Linked DNA regions of Homo sapiens: region 2 is linked to region 1. Evidence: promoter capture Hi-C in 16 types of primary human blood cells and fetal thymus (Javierre and others, 2016). All regions are on one chromosome and are shown on one strand. The core of a region is centred on a gene start or on the middle of the fragment in contact, and the rest is flanking DNA. Distances in the headings are between cores, read along the strand shown.

Region 1 (5,349 bases), core at 188-2,687:
CTTTATTATATTTGTAACATGCAATTATTTAAAACACATTTTATAAGGAAATCACATAAATATAAGGTATATATTATGAATATATCTGAAGTAAACCTAAATGTGAACAGTGTTTGATGGTTATCTGTGACTGATGAAATTTCGAGTATTTTCTTTCTTCTTTACACGTACTAAATGTTGCTCGGATTGCTAAAAACATGTACATACTATGTTTGCATTCTTGTCCGATTTATGTCCTTGGAATAAACTCCTGGAATTGGATTATGACTTAGAAGTTATGGTACTACTTGAATTCTGATTTATGTTTTTCTTTTCTCTTTTTTTTTTTTTTTTTTGAGACAAGAGTCTTGCTCGGTCGCCCAGGCTGGAGTGCAGTGGCGCGATCTCGGCTCACTGCAACCTCTCCCTCCCGGGTTCAAGAGATTCTCCTGTCTCGGCCTCCCGAGGAGCTGGGACTACAGGCGCCCGCCACCAAGCCCGGCCAATTTTTGTATTTTTAGTAGAGACGGGGTTTCACCGTATTGGTCGGGCTGGTCTCGAACTCCTGACCTCACGTGATCCGCCCACCTCGGCCTCCCAAAGTGCTGGGGTAACAGGCGTGAGCCACCGCGCCCGGCCTGAATTCTGATTTATAATGCCAAACTGCCCTCTAGAAAAACAGATTATCCCCAGCACACAGGCCATAAAGGTGCTTGCTTTCATTTCTTCACTCTCTCAGCAGCATGGGGTACTGAAAAATCTTACCAATCTAAAAAGATATCTTAATGTTTTTCTTTGCCTGCTTAGTGAGATTGTATACTGTTTAGAATAAAAAAGATTTATTTCCATTTCGGGGTGGACAAACACCTTGGACGGTTCCATGCTGCAGTCCACAAAAGGTGCAGCTAGAAGGCGACAAGACACGCTCCGCCTTTCAACGGCAAAGCTCGCAGTCGCCCCGCCTGGCCGTGGGCGTGGCTTGGACCCAGGTCGCTAGCGGCCTTCGGGACTCCCCTCCAGCCCTGGGGCCGTCCCCGGCCTCCGCCTGGTCCCAGGGGCGCGGCCCAGGAGCTCAGAAAGGCCACCGGGGCAAAGACCGCGGCGGCGGCCAGCGCACACCGTGACCTCCAGGGGCTGCGGCCCGCCGCGCACATCGCCTGTAGCTCACGCTGCCCCGGCCGCCTCCCTCAGGAACGCAGACGTTGGGGACGGCTCGCCAGGCAGGACCTGGAATCCACGGAGGGAAGCTGCCACTCTGCACCGTCCCGACGGTGGGAAAAGGAGCGAGGGCTCCCGCCGCAGTGGGCCGGCAGCCACCAGGTCCCCGCGTCCCTCCGCTTCCGGCCTTCGCCCGGCTTACCCGCGTCGCGGAAGTCCGCTCTCTGCACCGCGTCCTGCCAGTCGCCAGCAGAGCACCGCAGATTCTGTTAGCTTTCGCGTAACTTGCGCAGGCGCACTGCCGGCCCACGCGCCGAGCCTGCGGTTAACCGCCGACCGCTGAGGTTTAAATCCGGAGAGCGAACCGGCACCCTTGGCCCGGTCCGCCCTCCCTCTTATTGGTCCTGAGGGTAAACGTCCTCCAAGTCTGTATCCTGATTGGCGCACATTTTGTCTGGGCCTTCTCCGCCGGCGGGAGCATGCCCGGGATTTCCAATGTGGCCTTAAAAATATCCGAGCCCGCCTAGCTGAGGCGCGCAGGCAGCAGCCGTTGCTGCGACGCCTCTGGTGTACTAAATCTGGAGGGGAGGTTGGGCCCTCGAAGAGAAGGAGAAGACCCTCAAACCTTGGCTAACGGCGACATAGCTGGCTTTTTGGAGAGGCCGCCTAACGGTCTGCCACTTCATTGGAATCAGCCTCCGCCCTTCTCAACTGGCTGCTGCGGGGCCAGTGGTGCCGGGAGACGAGGGCGGGCGCTCAGGGACGGTTCGAACAGTCTGGGGTGAGTCCGCCTGTGCGCTCTAGACGTTTCCTTGGGGCCTGAGAGAGCGGCTGTATGAAACCCTGGCGCACTGAGCTCTTCCTTTCCTCTGCATGGTGTGCAGGGCCCTGGCGTGACCCGTGGCTGCGTCTCCACAGCTCCTCCCACGTTACTCTAACTGTGCTCCAGCCACCGACTGCCTTGCTCCGACATGCACTTGTTTTCTTTTGGAATGTGCCTGTCTCCTTCACATGGTGTTACTCTCAACTTTTTTTTTTTTTTTTTTTTGAGACGGAGTTTCCCTCTTGTTGCCCAGTTGCCCAGGCTGGAGAGTAGTGGCGCGATCTCAGCTCTCTGTAACCTCTGCCTCCCAGGTTCAAGCGATTCTCCTGCCTCAGCCTCCCGAGCAGCTGGGATTACGGGCGAGCACCACCATGCCCGGCTAATTTTGTATTTTTAGTAGAGATGGGGTTTCACCATGTTAGTCAGGTGATTCTACCCCCTCGGCCTCCCAAAGCTCTGGGATTACAGTTGTGAGCCTCTGTGCCCAGCCACTAATTTTTTTTTTAAACCCGATGTTTTAACTCTTTTTGCATCTGTACCTGTAAAAAAAAAAAAAAAAAAAAAAAAAAAAATCTAGTGCTTGGGGATTGCTGAGGATGAGATCTGTAAAAGCAAGAGGAGAGGCCCTCAGGGTTCAATATCCTAGTCAATACCAAGCAAACCTATCTCAACTGGTCTTGAGTCCTGAGCATTGCATTTTCCACCTTAAACAAATAGGTGCTAGTTGTCAAGTTCATCTTACACCATTTCTTAAATCCAGGATTCAGTGGGAGGGGAGAAATGTTTAATCCTTTTCCTCCAAACACTTCGTATTATCTCTTACTCTCCCTCTTTGCCTCAGGGCCTTTGTGCTACCTCTAAGGCACTTTGAATTTGTGGGAGGAAGAAAATGGAAAGAACAAAGGAGGGAAGATGACAGAAGTAGGTTGTGGAGATTTGAGTGACTGCCCCTACATCTGCAATATCATAACACTCCTTTAGTGCAGCGGTCCCAACCTTTTTGGCACTAGAGACAGGTTTCATGGAAGACAATTTTTCCATGGCTCAGAGAGGGGGTATGGTTTTGGGATGATTCAAGCGCATTACATTTATTGTGCACTTTATTTCTATTATTATATTGTAACATATAATGAAATAATTATGCAACTCACTGTAATGTAGAATCAGTGGGAGCCCTGAGCTTGTTTTTCTGCAACTAGATGGTCCCATCTGGGGGTGATGGGAGACAGTGACAGATCATCAGGCATTAGATTCTCATAAGGAGCATGCAACCTAGATCCCTGGCTTGCGCAGTTCACAATAGGGTTCACGCTCTTGTGAGACTCTAACACCCCTGTTCATGCGACGGAAGGCAGAGCTCAGGCAGTAATGCCAGATGGGGAGTGGCTGTAGAAACAGATGAAGCTCCTACGGCTTACCCCCTGCCTTGCGGCCTGGTTCCTAGGTGCCTGTCCGTGGCCTGGGGGTTGGGGACCTTTGTTTTAGTGCATATATTCTTTTCTTTCCATAGGAGCAAATTTAATATGCTCAGGTTTTATCTTATGCCAGCATGACTTTTTCTTTGGCTTTGAATCTCCAATCTGTCTTAGAAACCAAAGAGTAGATGGAATCATTTTTCTTCCAGCTTTGAACATCAGCATTCTCCTTATGGATCCCCCAGTTCGTTTCTTTTTCTTTTTTTTTTAATTTTTTTTGAGACAGAGTCTCTCTCTGTAGCCCAGGCTGGGGTGCAGTGGCACGATCTTGGCTCACTGCAACCTCCACCTCCCAGGTTCAAATGATTTTCATGCCTCAGTCTCCTGAGTAGCTGGGACTACAGGCGTGTGCCACCACACCCAGCTAATTTTTGTATTTTTAGTAGAGACAGGGTTTCATCATATTGGCCAGGCTAGTCTTGAACTCTGACCTCAAGCGATCCGCCAGCCTCCACCTCCCAAAGTGCTGGGATTTCCAGCGTGAGCCACTGTGTGCAGCCCCAATTAGTTTCTGTTATCCTTTTTATTAAATTTTGATCTTTGAAAACGTTTAATACATAGCAGCTTGAAGGATCTACTCCTGAATATTTCATATTGCAAGTGGTATCTTGTGTTCTACCCAACCCTGGTTTTTTTGTGGATTGCTTAGTCCTCCAATTTTTCTTAGATCTGATTTAATAATGCTTGTGGTTCCCAGAAATCTACTGAACCCCGGTCAAACCTTAAACAAGAAACTTTAACCATGACCACTTAAAATACAGTATATAGAGAAAAATCCTACTCTGCAAACCAAATCTCATCTTAAAAATTTGTTATGGAAAATTTCAAACAAATGTTAAAAAACCATACATAATGAAGCCCAGTGAACTCAATACCAGATTCAGCAATGATTAACTTATGACCAGTCTTGTTGCTTCTATATCACCACATACCTTGTCTTGTATTATTTTGAAGCAAATACTGAGTATCTGAAATCTAAATATTTCAGTATGATCTCTGAAAAATTAAAGGACCTTTTAAAAGCATAACATAATACTATTTTTGTTTGTTTGTTTGTTTTTGAGACGGAGTCTCACTCTTTCACCCAGGCCGGACTGCAGTGGCGCTATCTCAGCTCACTGCAAGCTCCACCTCCCGGGTTCATGCTATTCTCCTGCCTCAGCCTCCGGAGTAGCTGGGACTACAGGCACCCGCCACCGCACCCGGCTAATTTTTTGTATTTTTAGTAGAGACAGGGTTTCACCATGTTAGCCAGGATGGTCTCGATCTCCTGACCTTGTGACCCGCCCACCTCGGCCTCCCAAAGTGCTGGGACTACAGGCACCCGCCACCGCGCCCGGCCAACATAATACTATTATCACACCTAAAGTAGTTAATATATTTTCTTACTATCATCAGATATCCAGAGTTCAATTTTCTACTTGTCTTTCTTTTTTTAAAGTTTGCTTAACTGGGTCAGGATCCAGTCAAATCCACATGATATGTCAAATCCATATGTTCTTTAAGTTTCTTTTATTCTTTAAATTTCTCCCTCATTTTTTTCCTTGCAATTTATTTGTTGAAGGAACCAGGTTATTGGCCCTGTACAATCTCCCACAATCTGGATTTTGCTGATTACATCTAAGCAGTGTAGTTGAATATGGCTTCCTTACCTTTTGATTGCAACACAGCTCTCTTCCTTATGCTTTCCCCAATTAGGTGTTGTTGGTTTATCAACTCATCAACTTCTTTATGAACTCAAATATTGCTTTCAACTGGTTGTATCATCATGCTTGTTAACCACTCTTTTTTTTTTGAGACAGAGTCTCGCTCTTGTCGCCCAGGCTGGAGTGCAGTGGCACGATCTCGACTCACTGCAGCCTCCGCCTCCCGGGTTCAAGTGACTCTCCTGCCTCAGCCTCCTGAGTAGCTGGT
Region 2 (5,299 bases), core at 419-2,918, 1.0 Mb after region 1:
TTGTGACGATTAGGGCACCATTCACTCTATAAAGCGTTTTCTCGGCGGCAAAATGTGTCTGTCAACACCTTCCTTGCATACCTCACTAAGTTTCGAGCTTAGATGAGACAAAGTATGGTGAAAACACTCTGTAAACGCGCTAGGTGAGCAGAAGCGGGACTCTGCGGGGTGCCAGCGAGAAGGGATCTGTGCTTAACCTCCTGGAAATCTAGGAGGGTCAAGAGGTTGGAGAATCGGGCTCCTCCCCCATCGTCTTTCTCCCCAATCCTTCTATACGGACCACACCCTTCTGGTCGGCCTTTTCCCCCTAATTCCTGTAGACACAGCTGCAGGCGCCCTTTCCCTGGAATTTCCCCCTCTACCCTTCCCGGTCTCAGGAGATGCTTCGACTGCAGCCTAATGAATAGCTAATGGCCATGCTAATGAGGCTCTGGGGCTCCTCCCTCAGCACCTGATGTGCCCCACACATGAACACACACATATTGCCAGGGTCTCCTTTCTCTCCACCTTCGAGTCCCCAGCACAGTGCTCGTCACTAGACTCGAGTGGGTCGAGGCAGAGGGATGGGGACCGCGTGCACCTGGAGGGAACCACACGCGAAAGCGCCCGGTAAAGCGGGGGTTCCCGATGCGGCAGGCAGGGGGCGCGCTCCGGCCTCTCCGCAGGCTGGCGGCGGCCGGCTCCCGCAGCTTCCCCGCGGCGCTAGGGGAGAGCGCGCTGTCCCAGTCATTTATTAATCACCGTAATTAGCGGTAACGACCTCGCCGCCAGCTCCGCCCGCCCGCCACAGCTCTGCCGGGGTGGGCCGGCTGAGAGTCCCGCCGCTGAAAGACAAACTTCTAAGTTTCCTTAAAATGATCGCCGCCCCTATCCCCTCCGTAGCAAACACATCCAGCATTTTGGCTTCCTCTGGTCCTAAGTGAGTTCTTGGGAAACTTCGGGGTTCCGAAGACCAGCTGCCTGGGTGGGTCACCGAGTGACCTGGCTTGGCCGAGGCCGGCGGGAGACTGTGCCCCCTCCTCTGCCCTCCCTGCGCTGGGCCCGGGCCTTTCTTAGCTCGGACTTCCCTGCCCGTTACCAGCAACGGTTCTTCTCACCTGGGGTGGGCGTTGTAGGGGAAGGGAAGGAGGTGTAAAAAGACTCAGTAGCCATCTTCTCCCAAGCCCTCGACCTCCCGCGGGTACCCCCACTCATGTGCTCGAAGCTCCAAATTATCCCTTAGACCCCACGACCCAGGGAGGCGCTGGGAGGCGCCACTCAATCCCGGACCTCGGGACAGGAGCGCTTCTCCTTCCCTTCCACGCCGCCCTCTCACCTCATCCCCATCCCAGGATCCCATATCCCCAAGAGGCAGGGTCTCACCGTTGAGAGAGGGATCGCCGGGAGGCAGCAGGGTGTGGTTGAGCGCCGCCAGCGAGGAGTTGAAGCCCAAGAGCAGCTCGCTGGAGTTGGAGATGTCCCCGGCCAGAGAGTCCGCGAACAAGTTCATCTGCAGCAGCGTTTTCAGCAGGTAGCGCAGCATGGCTCGACCCAGCTGGGATCGGGACTGGGGGCTGGGGGCCCAGCCCCTGGGTCTGAGACCCGTGGGCTGGGAGCCGTAAGCCCCTCCACAGCCTCTGCGCGCTGCGGCAGCCACGGTGCCGCTCTCCTGCCGGTGCGCCTGGGTACGGTCGGTGCCTCTTCGTGCCCTCCTCCTTCCCTCGTCCTTCTCTCCACCCCCTAGTGCCGGAGTCCCCTGGGAGCTGGGCAGGCGGAAAGCAGGTGCCACGCCGATCACGGCGTAATTAAGGGATTAATCCGCCTCCCTCCACCCTCCCACCCTTACCTCTACAGTCACTATCCGAGCAGGAGACACGAGTAGCGTAGCGCGCGAGTTGGAGTCCCCGCCCCGCACCCCAAGCCCAGCGTTCCGTTCTGGACGCGGCGAGAGATTTTCCCTGTCTCAAAGCACCCAAGATGAGGGACGAGGCTCTGTCGGACTCTGCCCTTCTGCCCAACTTTAGAACAGGAATCTGTCCTCTCTTTTCCCGAACCTTTTGGAAACTGAGGCAAAGCGCAAGCAATGCTCCTTGCTGCCAAAGTTCTGGTTTCCATTCCCTCCCAAGTCTAGGGGTTTGGCGACGGAAGGGCAGGAGACTGGGGTGGTTTGCAGCAAGAGTTGGGAGTAGGCAGAGAATTCCAAGACAGGTCCACCTCTCTGCCCTCTGGTCCTTTGGTCTGCAGCCAGGAGGCCAGAGGATGGAGCGGCGCGCCCTGACCCGGGAGTCCTGCTCCAAACGCCCTAATCTAGGAGTTCCTGTAGGAGACTGAAAGCCAGGGAAACCCAGGCAACTGTCATTTATTTGAATCCTTTTACATTACCCTGCTTTGACATTTTTTATTAAATTGTTTTACGTTTTTGAGGAGACTGAAATGGAACCAAGGATTCTAGGACAAAAACAAAGATAATATTATTTTTGTAAAGGCATGTGGGATTGCTGCAAAATTAGTGCAAATCTGTTCAAATCGGATAGCAGTCGTCCTTCCTGGGGGGGGCGAAAAGAAAACCATGGGCCCCTACTCCCACCTCCCACTTCCAGTCGCGGTCTGCTTCTGACTTTTCTGGAGTTCTTTCTACCTGAAGACCCACCTCGACAAACTCACTTTCCTAGACAGGAGATGGCTTTGGGGTATCAGGGAAAGAGAGAGGCCGGGGCATTCCTAACCTGAGGTAAGGCCCTGCTGATTGAAGAGTCAGTGCCAGAGTTCTGGCTCAGCCGTCAGGTTCTGGGATGAGACAACTTTCATGGGGCGACTGCTTCTGACCCCAAAGGGGTCGAGATCAGAGGGGTGGGTGCTATACAGTCGCAGACTCTGGAGTAAGCAGAATCAAGAATTGAAATATTTCAGGCAGAGCTTGTTCAAGGGAACCCGAGACATTGTCAAGGGGTGGGGGGCTTGTTCCAAGCCTCCTTCCTCAGTCCAGGCGCCTGGCTGTGAGCCTCCAACTATGGGTGTTTAGGTGCCTTCCAACCCTAGCAGTTCTGGGCGGGACGTAGAAAGGCTGGAAGCACTAGGTGTGGGGGAGGGGGTAGGTGGGAGTGGGGGTGGGGCCGGATGGACCCCCCACCCCACCGCCACGCAGCGCCCTGGGAGCTGTCCTTTTCAGCACCTCATCTGCAGGTGCCTGACTAGGGCCCTGGAGCCCCCAGGGAAGACATAAATCCGAGCAGACCCTGAGGCTGAGGACTGGGGTAGGTGGGAGACGGGCTAGAGACACATCCTTTCAAAAGCAAGAAGATAATAAGAGATTTGACGCCCCTCCCTTCCTCGCTCCAGGGTGGTATTCAGATAAGAGAGAAAGTAAGGGATGTATTTCCCACCCGAAATCTATCCTTCAGGAATGACCAACACAGAAGTGGGTTCTAATTCTACGTTTGCCAAGTACAAGACGTCACCGCTTTGGATCTCAGTTTTCCCATCTGTTAAGGAGGAATTGGAGTGCTTGATCTACTCTGACCTGTGAGATTCGAGGCTCCGGGGCCCTTTGCTCCGCCCCCTGCTGACCGCGGTCACCTGGGTTCCATCACAGCAGAGGCTGAATCGGGATAGAAACCCCACGTCCTGGTACCAGGCCCTACTCTGGGGCGGAGGGGGCCAGAAACCCTCCCACCATGCGGCTCCTGCCCGGTCCTAATGCCCTGATTTGCTCCCGGCTGGCCTCTCCGCAAACACAGGGCCTGCCAGCGTCTAGGGGCTTGTCACCCTGTTAGCGGATTTGTTCCCGGAGACGGCGCAGTTAATTGGCCCTTTATGTGGGGATCAGGGCGTATTTGCTCAGGGTTCCCTGAGCGGAGGCGCGGCTCAACCCGTGAGCAAGGCTGCTTCACAGTCCCTGTCACGTGGGTTTGGAGGCTGGACAAATAGCCGGGCCACTCTACTTTCCAGGAATCTGCTGTCTCTCCTACACTTCACCTCGTCTGGGCTCTCTCTAATTTTCACTCTCCACTTTTTCTTGTTTCTCTCTGCTCTTTCCTTCTTTGTACTTCTCTTTATCTTGATGATACTCTCCTTTTAAACCAAACTCAGATCTAAGCCAAGAGGGCTGAGTTCTCCCAACTGGGGATATCAGAGAATAAATACCTCCCAACCATAACCTAAGTTCCCTCCCTTTTCCTTCCCATTCTCTAGTGTCCTTACGGCCCTGGGCTAGGCAGAGTGGAGCAGAGAGTGGGCAGAGAAGGCCCAGCAGAAGTCACACCTCCCAGCTCTTCTGCAGCCCTCTCCCCACCTTCTCTTCTTTACTGAGGGTCAGACAGGCAGCCTAGAAACTGGCCCTGCCCCTGTCCACATCCAGCTTCTCTCCTGGCTACCCCCATAGGCAGTTCTGAAAGGGGTTTGCCTCCTACTAGTCTCCTCACTGCCTGCTCTGCTCTCTGAAAATTACCAAGACAACTCTTTGTCCTTTTTCTGGAGTGGGTATGCAACTCTTTGCAACTATGTCCATTTCCTAATTTGTCAACTGTAAGTGCCTGTACAGCACCTAAAACACTGAGTAGATGCCCTGCAATTGGAGGAGCCTCAGCCGGGGTGCATTCATTCTGTTGACTTATAAATTTCCACCTTGGGCTGGAGAAAGAGTCAGAGTTGGGTTTAGAGACCCTCTCTTCTACCACCTCAGGAAACTACTTCTTTCCCAGAGTTTTACCAACAATATGTACAGTCCAGACTTTAGAAAGGGTAAGAAAAAGAAACAGAGGTTTTGAAGGAGATTTGGCAGAAAGAAGAGAGAGTAGCAGGAAGCAGGGAGGTTGGGGCGAGTTGAATTTGTAGAGTTAGGAGCTAAGTTTGTTCTGATAAGGTTACAGCATCTGATGGGAAGAAGTGTGTGTGTGTGTGTGTGTTTGCGTGTGTGTGCATGTGTGGGTTCACAGGTAGAGCCCTAGAAAAGAGCCCTGGGCCAGGAGTTGATGAGGTAATATAGAAGAGGAATATTTCTTTCCTATGGTGGTATTTTGGGTGGGTGGATTTGCAGAGGAACATGGGAAATGGGAAGGGCAAGTGATTATGAGTAAGGCAGGAACCCTACACAAGAGTGGTGTTTTGGGAATCATGAGCCTCTAAAGGAACTCTCCATCCCACCCCCCACTGGTGTGTGAGTGTGTGTGTGTGTGTTCACGTGCTAGGGGAGAGAACAGCTACCCCAGGCTAACTTTCTTGGCCTAGTGCCAGCATATCGGCCAGAGAATGTGGCTGGGAATTTTCAGTGGCCAAGCTGGGGCCATATGGGGAGGCTTCTTGGTGGTCTAAAGCCTGCATG

What was found. The method cuts DNA at HindIII sites, captures the fragments that hold promoters and counts their contacts. A CHiCAGO score of 5 or more calls a contact.
Region 2: a contact is called between the fragment with the promoter of ROBO3 here and the fragment with the promoter of HYLS1 in region 1, in 2 of 17 cell types (naive CD8 T cells and non-activated CD4 T cells). The highest score is 10.2, in naive CD8 T cells.

Annotation. Positions count from the first base shown.
Region 1 is chr11:125,883,756-125,889,104 of GRCh38, reverse strand. HYLS1 (HYLS1 centriolar and ciliogenesis associated) reads right to left here and starts at 1,437. Exons shown (of 3, transcript NM_001134793.2): 1 at 1,340-1,437. RefSeq lists silencers at 860-1,249, 1,350-1,399, 1,490-1,539 and an enhancer at 1,680-1,729. The HindIII fragment of the contact is 13,277 bases long and covers 1-5,349 here.
Region 2 is chr11:124,861,801-124,867,099 of GRCh38, reverse strand. It overlaps ROBO3 (roundabout guidance receptor 3), which reads right to left and starts at 1,668. Exons shown (of 28, transcript NM_022370.4): 1 at 1,363-1,668. The coding sequence starts at 1,522. RefSeq lists enhancers at 676-1,352, 3,692-4,193. The HindIII fragment of the contact is 17,224 bases long and covers 1-5,299 here.